Linked DNA regions of Homo sapiens: region 2 is linked to region 1. Evidence: promoter capture Hi-C in 16 types of primary human blood cells and fetal thymus (Javierre and others, 2016). All regions are on one chromosome and are shown on one strand. The core of a region is centred on a gene start or on the middle of the fragment in contact, and the rest is flanking DNA. Distances in the headings are between cores, read along the strand shown. Region 1 holds the start of EXO5 (exonuclease 5). Region 2 overlaps RLF (RLF zinc finger).

Region 1 (7,713 bases), core at 4,602-7,101:
TCTTTTTTTTGAGACGGAGTCTCACTCTGTCACCCAGGCTGGAGTGCAGTAGCACCATCTCGGCTCACTGCAACCTCTGCCTCCTGGGTTCAAGCGATTCTACTGTCTCAACCTCCCGAGTAGCTGAGATTACAGGTGCTGCCACCGTGCCTGGCTAATTTTTTTATTTTTAGTAGAGACTGGGTTTCGCCATGTTGGCCAGGCTGGTCTCAAACTCAACCTCAGGTGATCCTCCTTCCTTGGCCTCCCAAAGTGCTGGGATTACAGGTGTGAGCCACCGTGCCCAGCCCAACTTCTTTATTTAGTTAGCTCCTACTCATCCTCCCAGATTTAGTTTGCATCATACAAGGAAATGACATGTGATACACCTCACAAAATTTATACCTTTCTTGGATGAGCCCTTGAATTCTTGGCTGGATTGACTAAATAAAGAGATAAGCCTTATCCTATAGGATTTGAGACCAGAAAGTGACAACGTGGGGTTTAAATTTTATAAAATTACTGTGAAATCAGTTTGGGAGAACCACGTCTCAACATGAGGCAATAGCCCAGTGCAATAACTTACCACTTCAATTTGCTTTACATTGTTACTTGCTCCACGTCCCTCTTTTCTTTTCTTATCCTTGCTACCACGTGCTTAACACCTTCCAAATTAAAAAAAAAAAAAAAAAAAAAGGACTCTAATCCTTGCCTCAGGCTCTGTTTTCTAGAAGACTCTGGCTAAGACAGGCATAGAGTTTAACCCCAGTTTACCAATCAGGAACAATTTCTGAACTTATGTTTCAGCTATTAGGGAAACAGACTTCCTTTTTTCCCACAATGGACACAAATCTGAAAGGCTTTCATGGTCCTGGAAGCTACTAGCAGTGGAAGAGGAGGGAGGCTGCCGGATATGGAGCAAACACAGGAGAAACAGATCCAAGAAATGGAAAGAGAAAACCCCTTGACTCAAGGGTTCATAATGTACCATATCCGAAGCTGCCTTCTTTTAGCAGAAGCATGCCCCAGTCGTTCATCCTTAGCTCATTCTCACCCCCCACAACTTCCTGGCCTAGGGCTACCTCCTCCTGCTTTCTCCGACTAAAAATGCCCCTTTCAATTGCCAGAAATTGGAGTTTGACTCAAGAGAGAGGCTGATTCTCATATAAGGAATAGAAGATTCTCAAATACTGAATATTGTCAATGGAGTTCTCTTGAGCATGTAAAGAGTATGCCGATTATTGCCCCTATACCTGTGAGGAACACAATTTGAGCAAGATAAATTCTCTTCCTTTAAGGCTCTGATACTCCAGAGCAGCACTGTACAACAGAAATATAATGTAAGCCACAACACAAATGCAAACATATGTAATTTTAAATTTTCTAGCAGCTACATTAATACAACAAAAAACAGCAAGTAAAATTAATTTTTTTTTAAAGACAGAGTCACTCTGTTGCCCAGGCTGGAGTGCAGTAGTGCAGTCTTGGTTCACTGCAACCTCTGCCTCCTGGGTTCAAGAGATTCTCATGCCTCAGCCTCCTGAGTAGCTGGGACTACAGGCACATGCCACTATGCCTGGCTAATTTCTGTATTTGTAGTAGAGATGGGGTTTTGCCATGTTGGCCAGGCTGGTCTTGAAATCCTGACCTCAGGTGATTCACCCACCTTGGCCTCCCATAGTGCTGGAATTACAGGCATGAGCCACCACACCCAGCTTAATTTTAAGATGTTTTATTTAACTCAGTTTTATTAGTCTGTTCTCATGCTGCTAATAAAGACATACCCAAGACTGGGTAATTTATAAAGGAAAGAGGTTTAATGGCCTCACCATTGCACATGGCTGGAGAGGCCTCACAATCATGGCGGGAGGCGAAGGAAGAGCAGGCATGTCTTACATGGCAGCAGGCAAGAAGCTTGTGTAGGGGAACTCCCCTTTATAAAACCATCAGATATTGTGAGACTTATTCACTATCACGGGAACAGCACAGGAAAAACTCGTCCCCATGATTCAATTGCCTACCACTGGGTCCCTCCCATGACACATGGGGATTATTAAAATTCAAGGTGAGATTTGGGTGGAAAACACAGAGCCAAACCATATCACCAATATATCCAAAACATTATCATCTCAACATTTAATCAATGTAAACATTATTAGTGAGTTATTTAACCTTTTTTTTGTACTCAGCTTCAAAGTGCTTGTAAATGTTATAATTATAGCACATTTCATTTTGGACTAGCCACATTTCAAGTGTTCAAGAGCCACATATGACTAGTGGCTACTGTATTGGACAGTGCAGCTCTGGGAGTAATCACATAAAGACTTACTCCGATATATGGTAGACTGTAGTCAGTACAATGTTAGGGGTACAGTCCTGTGCTCCAAAACACCAAGGAGGGAAGAATGGACACAGAGGAAAATGGGCCATTTGTGTCTAACAGTATTTTGATGGTTACAGACCTGGAGATGGAAGAACCAAATCAGTGACTTTTGCATACAGGTGGGCCTTAAGGACTCAGACTTCCTAGGATAGCCTTTTGGGGAAAAGGGCATTCTTTTCTCAGTTTTGAGACCCACAGTCTTTAGGCTGAAAGTTTTGGGGAATATATGGTACTATGTTTTTGATATTTATTTTCCCCACAAATTCCATGACTGTTTCTAAATCTCTTCTGCTTCACTCTACCCAGTGTCATTGCCCCTCAAACCCCATTTGAGGAGTGGTCCATGTGTGAAGGGGTTGGGGAGGGGTTTTCCTGGCATTCAGTTTACATCTCAAGTAAGAAAGGTTATGTTGGGGAAGAGGCAGAAAGTTTTTGTAGCCTCAATCCAGAAATGCCTTCTCATATCTCAATGGATTAAAAAGCATTTCCTCAATGATATGGTTTGGTTGTCTCCCAACCCAAATCTCATCTTGAAGTGTAGCTCCCATAATTCCCACATATCATGGAAGAGGTACCTGGTAGGAGGTAATTGAATCGTGGGGGCAGGTCTTTCCCATGCTGTTCTCGTGATAGTGAATAAGTCTCACAAGATCTGATGGTTTTGTTTTGTTTCGTTTTTGTTTTTGAGATGGAATTTCACTCTTGTTGCCCAGGCTGGAGTGCAGTGGCGCGATCTCAGCTCACCACAACCTCCGCCTCCCAGGTTCAAGTGATTCTCCTGCCTCAGCCTCCCGAATAGCTGGGATTACAGGCGTCTGCCACCATGCTTGGCTAATTTTTTGTATTTTTAGTAGAGATAGGGTTTCACCATGTTGGCCAGGCTGGTCTTGAACTCCTGACCTTAGGTGATCCACCAGCCATGGCCTCCCAAAGTGCTGGGATTACGGGCATAAGGCACCACACCCAGCTGACCTGATGGTTTTATAAAGGTGTGTTCCCCTGCACATGTTCTCTCTTGCCTGCCACCATGTAAGAGGTGACTTTGCTCCTCCTTCACCTTCCTCCATGATTGTGAGGCCTCCCCCGCCATGTGGAGCCGTGAGTCAATTAAATCTCTTTCCTTTATAAATTACCCAATCTCAGGTATGTCTTTATTAGCAGCATGAGAACAGACTATTTAATACACTTAAATTCCATTTTTTTTTTTTTTTTTTTTTGAGACAAGAGTCTCAGTCAGCCACCCAGGCTGGAGTGCAGTGGCATGATCTCGGCTCACTGCAACCACCATCTCCCGGTTTCAAGCGATTCTCCCATCTCAGCCTCCCGAGTAGCTAGGATTACAGGCACCTGCCATCATGCCCGGCTAATTTTTGTATTTTAGTAGAGACAGGGTTTCACCATGTTGGCCAGGCTGGTCTTGAACTCCTGACTTCAGGTGATCCGCCCGCCTCGGCCTCCCAAAGTGCTAGGATTACAGGCGAGAGCCACCGTACCTGGCCTCAACTTACATATTTCTAAGAAAAAGAACATTTTCCTACATAACCACAAAATCATTATGACACTCAGGAGACCTATAATTGATTGATAATATTATCTAAAACACAAGTCACTTCAAAATTTTCCCAACTGACGCACCAGAGTAGCTGGGACTACAGGCACGTATCACCACCCCCAGCTAATTTTTGTATTTTTTGTAGAGACGTGTTTTCACCATGTTACCCCAGCTGGTTTCTGAACTGAGCTCAAGGGATCCACCCACTTCGGCCTCCCAGAGTTCTAGGATTACAGGTGTGTGAGCCACTGCACTCAGCCTGTAGTTGTCTTAATTTAATGTTTCTCTTTCTTTCTTTTCTTTTCTTTCTTTCTCTTTCTTTCTTTTTCTTTCCTTTTTTCTCTTTCTTTTTTTCCTTTTTTTTTTTGAGACAGAGTCTCACTTTATCACCCAGGCTGGAGTGCAGTGGCCTGTTGTCGGCTCACTGCAAACTCCGCCTCCCAGGTTCAAGTGATTCTCCTGCCTCAGCCTCCCAAGTAGCTGAGATTACAGGCACCTGCCACCACACTTGGCTAATTTTTTGTATTTTTACTAGAAACGGGGTTTCACTATGTTGGCCAGGCTGGTCTCAACTCCTGACCTCAAGTGATCCGCCTACCTGGGCCTCCCAAAGTGTTGGTATTACAGGCATGAGCCACCATGCCTGGCCAATTTAATGTTTTTCTATTTTTGTTTTAAAATATTTACCTATTCTGAAGTCCAAAGATATTTTCCTATATTATATTCTGAAGACTTTATAGTTTAGGATTTCACATTTAGGTCTTAATCCAGCTACAATTGATTTTTGTGATGAAATGAGAGATAGAGGTCCTGTTTTCTGTTTTGTTTTTTTTTTTGAGACGGAGTCTCCCTCTGTTGCCCAGGCTGAAGTGCAGTGGTGTGATCTCCGCTCACTGCAACCTCCGCCTCCCGGTTCAAGCGATTCTCCTGCTTCAGCCTCCTGAATAGCTGGGACTACAGGTGTGTGCCACCACACCCAGCTAATTTTTGTACTTTTTAGTAGAGACAGGGTTTCACCATGTTGGCCAGGATGGTCTCGATCTCTTAACCTCGTGATCCGCCCACCTCAGCCTCCCAAAGTGCTGGGATTACAGGCGTGAGCCACCGTGCCCGGCCTTCATATTGTCATAGAACCTTCACTGAATAGACCATCTTTTCTCCATGGCTGTATGATGCCACCTTTGTCATAAATCCAGTTTTCAAGTATGCGTGATAAACCGTAAAGAAAAGCAAAGAGTCAAGTATCTGCTTTTGGTAAAATAAATAAATAAATAAATATAAATAAGAAAAGCAAAGTGTTATAAAAGTCGGGCTAGTGGTTTTCTCAGGAAGTGTATCTGTGAAGAACCTGACACTATTCTTTTTTCGCTCTAATGACTTGGCTGTTCATAATTATACTTATCTTTGGTTTATATTTCAGAATAAAATTGTGTTATATTTATCAATAAAAGGTTAGTTAAAAGTAAGCAAACAGAAAAAAAAAAAGAAATATTGATGAGGGGAGCGCCAGCATCTCTCAAAAGTGAGTTCGTGGTTTTGCTCTCAATGGAAAAGCCGGCGGGAGGTGCTAAGGTGGGGATGCTGAATCCACGGATGGCCAAGCGGAGACGCGGCACTTCACCGGGGGCAGCGAGGGGCCCAGACCTTGCTCGGATTGTCCCGGTGGTAACTGGGAGACCTCGCCAGTGAGGGAAGTTACAGATCAGCTGCGCCCGGAATTAAACGACCCACAGACAACGGCGCAAACAGAGGGACTGACCTGCTTTAGTGAGCTCCCAAAACCTGCTCTCGCATAAGCACACCCTCCTCCGCTCACAGAGACGGATTTCTGCCCCAGCCGCAGCCTCGCGAGGTAGGCGGCGCCGCGAGGGCCTCTGGGAAGGCGGTCCGTGGGCAGCCGCGGGGCACTCTGGGACTGGGCTCTGGGCGGCTTTTTTGCGAGTGGCGGGCCGACTGTGTAGTCCGCTCCGGCAGCGCGCTCTGCCCGGCTTCCTCAGTCTCCTCGCCGGGAGCGTCCGGGAGCAGCTCCGAGGCCGCGGCGAAACCAGGTGGAGTCCGAGGTTCGGAGGAGTATCAGAGGTTAGGGGAAGGCCGGAGAATGGGCTGGGAGGCTGCGTTTCGGAGCTTAGGGTTCTGTCCCTGCGATCGCCGCGTCTCCCTCCCTTGGTGGGCGCGGCTCCCGGGAAGCGGCTCGTCTCGTCTCCCCTCACAGGCCGGGTTCCCGTTCTGGACCTTCGCCCTCGGAACACAGTGCTGTTGGCCGGGACTCCTTCCCGAGGTGGACGGCTCCCTGTTCTTATTCCTGGCTCTGCCAGAACTGTAGGAAGTGCTCAGTACACTTTAGGGCATGCATGGCACTCCCTGGGAGACAGTGCTTTAGGGCCAGAGGAAAGATCTTCCCTGAAGGCAAACGCCCGCGGAGCCCACAAGTCCGGGCCGCACTGAACAAGTCAGGATGTTGCCATCGGCAATTCTGCAGAAGGCAGTAACCCATCTGAGAGAAAGAGCCGCTGTCATAAGGTCTCTTGCTTGAGCTGCTGGGTTGAGAATGGAGCTGGAAGAGGGAACTGATCTCGGAGCTCCTTGGGGATCTTGGTTATGTCTGACCCTTTTACTTTCAGGGAGCAGGGATTGGATCAAGTCATTGCATCTAGAGTACGGGGGAACGAAGAAATCATGGAGAGAGTTTGCCCCAGGAGAGAGGCGAGCGTTATGTAACCTAGGATCTGGGGTGGGTAACAGTCTGTGCAGTGTCAATGTGAGAGGAGAAAACACCCAACGTGAGGGAATGGTCAGGTAAGAAAGGACCAGAAGTTCCGGTTCTACCATAGCAAGGACCTAAGTTGCTAATTTAGGTTCTTTAATGCAGACCTGGTCTTTCAGAACTTCTTTCTCTTCCCTAGCCTTGTCATTTCAGCATTCTGGCCTTCCCTATGAGGAGGAAGATCAACGAAGTCACAGGTGAATAGGAGTTTCTCTTCTAAAGTTTCATCTCCTTTGTCAGGGGGAATCGATACACTCTCTCATCTCTTCCTTGGGGAAAAAGAAGGAGATCTATCTTCATCGAGTGCTAATATGCGTACTATATGTTATCACTCAATGGTCGGATATCTCAGTAGGGTTAGTAGGTATTTTAAAAATGTGTCAGTAACTTCAGGAAAACTAGAACCTTGTCCAAGCTTACTCAAAAGGCAAGTAGCATACTACTAAATGCTACCGAACTACTCAGGATTAGGTTTAGAATCCATATCTGTAGGACTCCCAGACTCTTGGCATTATGCTGTTTCCCAGCATCCCATTCACTTACTACCTAACAATTTTGCCATACCTGTGTACTACCTGTATTATTCTATGTTTTTACTTACTTTTTTTTTTTATAAAAATCAAACTTGTCCTAAGAAACAATATCTGTGAAATTAGCCATTTGATGGCTGCTCCAATAACAGTATAGTTATTCTAAGGTGTATCTAAAAATGTTGGTCCATGTGCTATGTAAAATCGTCTCGTGTCAGACATACAAACTACAATTTGGGACACAATGCACTGCATTATGCTCTCTTCTGGATTCTTTTCTGCGTAGGAAAGTCCCAGACACATCTGAGCATCAGTCATCCATCCCTAGTGTACTGTTTTATTCTTATAGATGAATACTTTCACAGAGAATGCCCTGCTTTGTATCTTCTCCAAAAGACATTTCACTTCCCTGTTTAGAACTACCTGTTCTCAATGTTGTATGTAAAACAAGTAGGAACTCCATACATTTCAGGAGCTTCCTCTCTCTTTGGGGAGTTAATGTGTA
Region 2 (7,767 bases), core at 1,777-4,276, 300 kb before region 1:
AAATTTAAGATGTACTTATATCTAAGATACTTCCCAGTGGCCAAAATACTGACTCCAGGAATTTGTGATTCTGTCCTGGCTCCTAGTAGTCTTTGCATTTCTATCAACTAACGTATTTTTTCAAGTGCTCACAGACTTTATTCTGGGATGGATATTGGGTTAGCAACATTCCACTTGGAAGCACTGTGGCCTGGTCTTTGAGATTTAGTAGTAACTTGAATCTGAGAGGATTGTCTAGGCAGGGAAAGTATAGATAGAGACAGAATGCTAGTCATCTTTGTTTTGGGGAATGACCTTACACAGGAGCACAGATACGGGATGCAGAGATGAAACAGCCAGTTGGTGGCTATGAAGTGGACAACATGTAGTTTCCTCAAATGGGGATTGAAGCTATGACCTAGGGCCTCATTAATAAATGTTCTTATTTGTTAGACTTTCTGGTGATAAAGAAATCAAAGGATAAAATGCTTTGCACTGCCTGTCTTTTCAGACTTTCTACTTGAATCTTAAATATAACTGCAGAAAACATTTATTGCTCACTTGTCTATTCCAAGCACTGTGCTGTGTGCTTTAAATGTGTCGGTATCTAATCCTTATAAAAATCTATTAATTTAGGCCAGGTGTGGTGGCTCATGACTGTAATCCCAGCACTTTGGGATGCTGAGGAGGGAAGATTGCTTGAGGCCAAGAGTTCAAGACCAGCCTGGGCAACATGGTGAAACCCCATCTCTACAAAAAAAAATGCAGAACTTAGCTGGGCGTGGTGGCATGTGCCGTAGTCCCAGCTACTCGGGAGGCTGAGGTGGGAGGATTGCTTGAGCTCTGGAGGTGCAGGTTGCAGTGAGCTGAGATCACACCACTGCACTGCAGCCTAGATGACAGAGTAAGACCCTGTCTCAAAAACAAAAAAACTTTGAATTTTATAGAAATTAACTGAGGCTCTGAGAGATGATATTACTGGCGCATAGTAGTAAGATGTCCAGTAAGTGGTGTGCCCAGGGTTTAAATCCAAGGTGATCTGCCTCTGCTTTGCTTTTATACATATTAATCTGACACTCACACATCTCATGTACATGATCCAACTCACTGTCACTGCCAACCTTCTGGTTCTTTCTGGATTCTGGTTCTTAAAGTAGACTTGTTGTGCAGGCAAGTTTTTATTTCTTTTGTTTACCCAGAGGGGAAACTTCAGAAAAGATGGGAGGGGACTTTGAAGTTCTGAGGCTTGTGGGTGGCTCATTACTGGACTGGATTTACTGAGGAGCTTAGGTAGAGTATGTTTTTCACAAGACATCTAGAGAAGTGAAAGCAACAATCAAAATATGTAGGCTTGAATCTTGACATTGTCATTTACTAGCCATACAGCCTTGGCCAGGTAGCTTTATTTTCCTTATCTATAAAGTAGGCACAACAGTAGTAGCCGTCTCACAAAATGGCTGGATAGTTTAAATGTGATAATATCTAAAGCACTTAACACAGTTCTTGGCATATTTTAGACACCTTACAAACATAGACCCTAGTATAAGAATTCTTTAAGCCTGGGGTGCAGAACTAGGGAGGATCCGTCGAAGTCAAGATTGATCAGAGGTGAAACCTGAATTTGCACAGAGAAACAATGTGGTATACACAGAGATAGCCTCCTATGACTTCATCTACATTTTTAAAAGCAGTCATATGGGCTGGACAGAGTGGCTCATGCCTGTAATCCCAACACTTTGGGAGGCCGAGGCGGGCAGATCATGAGATCAGGAGTTCAAGACCAGCCTGGCTAACATGGTGAAACCTTGTCTCTACTAAAGATACAAAAAATTAGTCAGGTGTGGTGGTGTGCGCCTGTAATCCCATCTACTCAGGAGGCTGAGGCAAGAGAATCACTTGAACCCAGGAGGCAGAGGTTGCAGTAAGCCAGGATCGTGCCATTTGCACTCGAGCTGGGGCGACAGGGCGAGACTCCGTCTTAAAAAAAAAAAAAAAAGGCGATCATAAGAGACCAACTATAAACCTGTATGCTAATTTATTTATTTGCAGTATCAGGTAGTGTAAGGAGATAGATTGCTTACCTCTAATAGCAGCTGCAGTATTTTATGTTTGGGAAAGTTAATCAGACTGAGATGTAGTAATGGTTATTCTCAGCACCTGACACATGCCAAAACAATTCAAAAGCAGCAGCAAAACACTACATTTTGGGTTTGATTCCTCATCCTGTAATAATAACAACTTTACTCTCTCAGCCTTTGCTTAATTAAAACCCGTTTTGTTTCTAATGTTGTATTAGGCATTGGCAAATACAGCAAACTGTATGGCCCAGTTTGTTTGCCAAAAATAGTTACAGAAAGAGAAGTACTAAGCTCAATGATTACTGCCCTAAATTCAGTAGAAGTGTAAAGATAGAGAATTCTGTGTTTATAGAAAAATTGATCCTTGAATTGGAGCTTTAAGTAATGGTGGGGTTTGGATGGGTGGAAAGAATGGTTTGGAGATGACTGAATGGTAGTAAAGCACAGGTACTAATGAGTACTTTGCAGGGATCCACTGGAGAATAAATACCCTGCTTAGGGCAGAGTGGTTATTGAAGTCTTGTGAGAAATAAGACCTGTTGGGGTTGGAAAAGAAGGGCTTGGAAACTCCATTGCATTAATGGTTAGATTTGATGCAGTAGAAATTAAGAAGGCTTTGCAGTTAGGAAGTGACATGTCTGAAGTGGTGTTTTAGGAAGACTAGACAGAAAGAATATGTATTATGTTTAGGACAAGAGATTGTAGCCAGCAAGAGGACAAAGGACAGGACTTGCTGACCGGGCAAAAACAGAGGAGGATGTACAGAGATACCTTCAAGAGGCTCATAAGGCTTCTAGCTTGGGAGACTGGAAGAATAGTGGTGCTCTGCTGCTAATTAGAAGAAAGAATGGGTGGAGGGACAAGGGAGAGTCTGGGAAGATGATAAGCTTTGTTTTATACATGATCTTTCCTGGTTTATTAATAACAATGTTTGGAAACAGGATTTTTCCTGATTGTGTTGAGTTTGCAGGGAACTGTGTTATAGGAAATACGATTTGATACTATTCACAACAGGGGGTTGGCACCCACCCAGCTACCTGTTTTTATAAATAAAGCTTTACTGGCACAAAGTCTTACATTCATTTCTTGTCTGTGGCTGCTTTTGTGCTACAGTGGCAGAGGTGAGTAGTTGTAACAGAAACTCTCTGGCCAGAAAAGCTAAAAATATTTTCTGTCTGTCCTTGTACGAAAAATATTTGCTAACCTCTGCTCTACAAGAATTAAATTTTCCAGTCTATTTCAGTGGTTTAATATCGGTTGGTCTAACCCTCCGTGTTCTACACGTGATGAAACTGAAGCCAAGCTGATAATGTTTCCAAGGCCCTTCCTGCATTAAGCTAATTAGAAAGGCCAAGCCCAGCTGGAATGCAGGTCACCTGGCTCCTTGGTCAGCCTTCTTTCCACTCTACCACCTATTTCCATGTGTTAGACATTGATAAGCCATGGTCTGATTGGGAACATCTTGGTGATATATCATTCTGTTCATATTTATACATATAGGTGTGATTTAAAACATTTTTATCATGATGTGGATTAATTTGTTAAATATACCAATGCAAAACATTTAGTACACATAAAGTTATCTTAAAATTATTTTAAAGGAACCCTAGTATCATCGTATCATCATAACTAGTCAGTCTTTTTTTTTCCTTTCTTTTTCTTTGAGATGGTGTTTCACTCTTGTTGCCCAAGCTGGAGTGCAATGGCGTGATATCGGCTCACTGCAACCTCTGCCTCTCGGGTTCAAGTGATTCTCCTGCTTCAGCCTCCCGAGTAGCTGGGATTACGGGCACGTGCCACCACGCCTGGCTAATTTTTGTATTTTTAGTAGAAACGGGGTTTCACCGTTTCTACTGGTGACCAGCTGGTCTCAAACTCCTGACCTCCTGTTATCCGCCCGCCTCGGCCTCCCAAAGTGCTGGGATTACAAGGCATGAGCCATCACGCCCAGCCACTAGTCAGTCTCTTATCCTAGTGATACTTTTCTTTTGCAAGTGTCAACAGAATTAAAAATAATCTGTAGTTTGCTTTGGAAAATTACTAGTGAGTCACCAGATGTTGATTAATTAGAGTTTAAATTCAGCATACGTTCTAAAGTAGCAGAGTTACACACATATTTGCCATCTACTTCACCTGAGTTCAGGAGAAGAGTTAACTTGAGCAACAGCTGGGAATAAAAGTACATTGTATGTTGGTACCTGGGGGTATCCCAATAATAGGCATATGTAATGGGAAACCGCTGCTGGGGAAGATTTAGCCAGACACATACAATTAAGATTAATTGACTGGGTCATCTGAAAGTCAAAATTCAGAACCTAGTGGGTAAAGAGTGAGTCCTTTCAGATATCTGGTAGGTCTGGAAGGCAGAAGAATTTCATGGAATCCTGGAGTTTTAGGTTGTGATACTTTATTTATGTAGAATTGAATGAGATGACATTGCTATTAACTTTACATATTAAAGGATTTTAATAAAAGTTATAGACTTGGCAGTGGCTCAGTGTCCCAAGTGGATGTTTCCTATATTTTTTCATTACTGAAAGGGGAAGTCTTTGCAAAGATCAGGTTTTCAACATAGAAAAGATAACATTTTAAACATCAAGCACTTCTATTTTAAAGAGCTCAAGAAATCTGTCAGCAGAGTTCTTGGCGCAGTTAAGGCAGGGGTCCGTTTCATTCTTAATCCCTGAATGAACTACATCTTCGGTATCTGACGTGGTTGATAGACACAATAGCAGATGGTTGTTTCTTTTCCTGATGGGGAAAGGAAAGGACAAACAGGATCCAATTTACTTACCAGCCTAACACTGTTGGGAATTGACACAGTCACTAGGTATAAATGATAGAGCAGATACCTTTAAACAGGACCCAGTGGGAATTCAGTTTGGGAGTAGAAGAAAAAGTAAACAGGAGTATAGAAATTCCAGATGTAGTTTAAGTAAGAATCAAGATTAAGATGAACTCTGAACAAGGAATAATTACAAAAGGTTTAATTAAGTTTAAAATATGCCACCTCCACCACCTTCTTTTATGCTAATTGGCTGCCTGTTAGACCATTGGTGTTTAATTGCCTGATTATTTTGAAAGTCTTAATACTTCTACTTTATCCTTGTGATCATACAAGGAATGAGATAATACACTCAGAATACACTAATGACAGAAAGTCTGTGTAAAGAAATTGAGGATTTGCTTGTTTAGGTATTTTATCTCCTAAAGCACAGTTCTTTCAAATAGCTTTGAAGAGACGTCTTCCCAGAACTTTGTATGCATCTGGATCTCACTTCTGATCTTACTTTCATGGGTTATGTGTGGGTATTTTGGTTGGTGTATGATTGCACTGGAGGGGGTCATTATGAAGAGTCGATCAGACATATTGTCAAGAATTCAGCAGGACGTTTCAGCCTTCTTTCAGATACACACTGTGATAGGGTTTAAATGGAAGCATTGGTGACCATTTATTTCTTTAAGAAATATACAAGGTCCGTGCAGCATCATAGTACTGGTCTGTAGCATTACTGCAGTTTAAAAGGAGTCTCATGTTTTTAAAACTGGTCAGTATTCTTTTTTCCCAGGTAATGTCTTTGAAGCTAACAGATGATTTTCCCAAAGATATCTAGGGTTACTTGAAATGTAAGTTTGCTAACTGTAACTCCCACCTTTCTTCTACTCAAGGATGCAAGTGAATGAAGTATTATTATATGAATAAGCTTAAATCTACTTTGATTCCTTTTTGAAAAAATAAAACATTTATCAACTTTGATTTTTAAAATCTATTACTAGGAACAAATTGTTTTCAGTATACCTCAGAACTAATCAGGGAAATACTGCATTGAAAACCACTATTCTAGAGAAAGGTAATGATAAAATATTAATGGCACTGGCCGGAATACTAGTTTACATTGATAGCCTAAGCAGGAAAATAACTTAGGAACGTAAGTATGCTGCCTGTACCCACCTTCTGTTATGCCAGTTGGCTGCCTCTTATGCCTGTTATTACTGTTGTTTAATTGCCTGATTATTTTGAAACCTTTCTAACTGTATCTAATCTTGCCTTTTCCTAATTTGTTTTCTGCAGTGGCCAAGGTGATCCTTTTTCTTTTTTAAGTAAAATTAGATATTTTATTTTGAGGTAATTTTAGATTCACATGTAATTACAAGAAATAATGCAGAAATGCCTTCCATTTATTCAGTATACATTCATTGGAGGTGTCTGCTGGGCAATGGGGTTACAAGAATGAACAAGACAAAAGGGAGAGAAACAACAGACAGTGTTCATACAATGTGAGATTTAGAGGTCTGAGCTGGAAATTAAGAGTTCTAATCACCATTTGAAACCAGAGAGTGAATAAGATTAACTTTTTTAGAACTCTGAAAAATAAAGGCTTTACAGCAATCTGAGGAGGTTTTACTCAAGAAAAAGAAATAAATCTCATAAGAATATCACCTTTGACCTCAGCTGGTAATATGCCTGTCAGGTGGCTCAAATTTTTTTGTCACACTGCGCATGTTTGTGAAGTGATCACAGAAGTGCTCTGATTATTGATTTGGGGGTTTTACAAATAAATTTTAGCAAGTAGGCTAATACACAAATACAGAATCTGCAAATAGTGAGGCCCAACTATATATTCAGAGAACTAAAGGAAACATGCTTAAAGAATTAAAGGAGGCCAGGTGAGGTGCCTCACACCTGTAATCCCAGCACTTTGGGAGGCCGAGGTGGGAGGAGCTCTTGAGACCAGCCTGAGCAACATCTACATGTGCAACATGTAGAGACCCTGTGTCTACAAAAAAATTTTTCAAATTAGCTGGGTGTGGTAGTGTGCACCTGTAGTCCCAGCTATTCATGAGACTGAGGTGGGAGGATCACTTGAGCCTGGGAGGTCAAGGCTGCAGTGAACTATGATCATGCCACTGCACTCCCACCTGGACAAGAGTGAGCCTGTCTCAAAAAAAAAAAAAAAAAAAAAAAAAAACTAAAGTATGAGAACAATGTCTCAGTAAATAGAGAATATCAGTAAAAAGACAAATTATAAAAAACCAAAATGAAATTCTGAAGTCAAAAAGTGCAGCAACTCAAGTTAATTCACTAGAGAAGGTCAGCATCAAATTTGAATTACCAGAAGAAAGAATCAGCAAACTTGTCCAGTCTGAGAAATGATAGAGCCCAAAATGCATGAAATAGCAGAATCAAAGAGGCAAATGGACAATTCAAACATGAGAGTTGGAGACTTTAACACCCACTCTGAATAATGGGTAGAACAACTAGGCAACAAAGAAATGGAAGACTTAAACAATACTGTAAACCAACTGGACTGAGCAGACATCTATAGACTACTCCACCCAACAGCAGCTAAATATACATTCTTCTCAAATGCACATGGTCTATTCTCCAGGATAGACCATGTGTTAGCAAGTAAAACAAACCTAAATAAATTTTAAAGGATTGAAATACATAAAGTATGTTCTCTAACTACAGTAAAATAAAATTAGAAACCAATAGCAGAAGGAAATTTGGGAAATTCACAAATAAGTGAAATTTAACCTACCTTCCCAAATAACCAATGGATTAAAGAAAAAAAAAGAAATTAGAGAGTAAGTTTTTGTTGTATTTTGTTTTGTTGTTTTTGAGACAGGGTCTCACTCTGTCCCTCAGACTGGAGTGCAGTGGCAGAATCATAGTTCACTGCAGCCTTGAACCTCCTGGGCTCACGTG

Evidence for each region. The method cuts DNA at HindIII sites, captures the fragments that hold promoters and counts their contacts. A CHiCAGO score of 5 or more calls a contact.
Region 2: a contact is called between a fragment that was not itself captured here and the fragment with the promoter of EXO5 in region 1, in 6 of 17 cell types (naive CD4 T cells, total CD4 T cells, naive B cells and 3 more). The highest score is 7.6, in naive CD4 T cells.

The regions. Positions count from the first base shown.
Region 1 is chr1:40,502,916-40,510,628 of GRCh38, forward strand. EXO5 (exonuclease 5) reads left to right here and starts at 5,852. Exons shown (of 4, transcript NM_001346953.2): 1 at 5,852-5,993; 2 at 6,536-6,710; 3 at 6,818-6,875. It overlaps EXO5-DT (EXO5 divergent transcript), which reads right to left and starts at 5,780. Exons shown (of 2, transcript NR_187365.1): 1 at 5,674-5,780. RefSeq lists enhancers at 5,889-6,138, 6,169-6,258. The HindIII fragment of the contact is 5,200 bases long and covers 1,892-7,091 here.
Region 2 is chr1:40,207,919-40,215,685 of GRCh38, forward strand. All of the region lies in intron 5 of RLF (RLF zinc finger), which reads left to right. Among named protein-coding and RNA genes, the nearest start is that of TMCO2, 36 kb to the right of the region's middle. The HindIII fragment of the contact is 168 bases long and covers 2,943-3,110 here.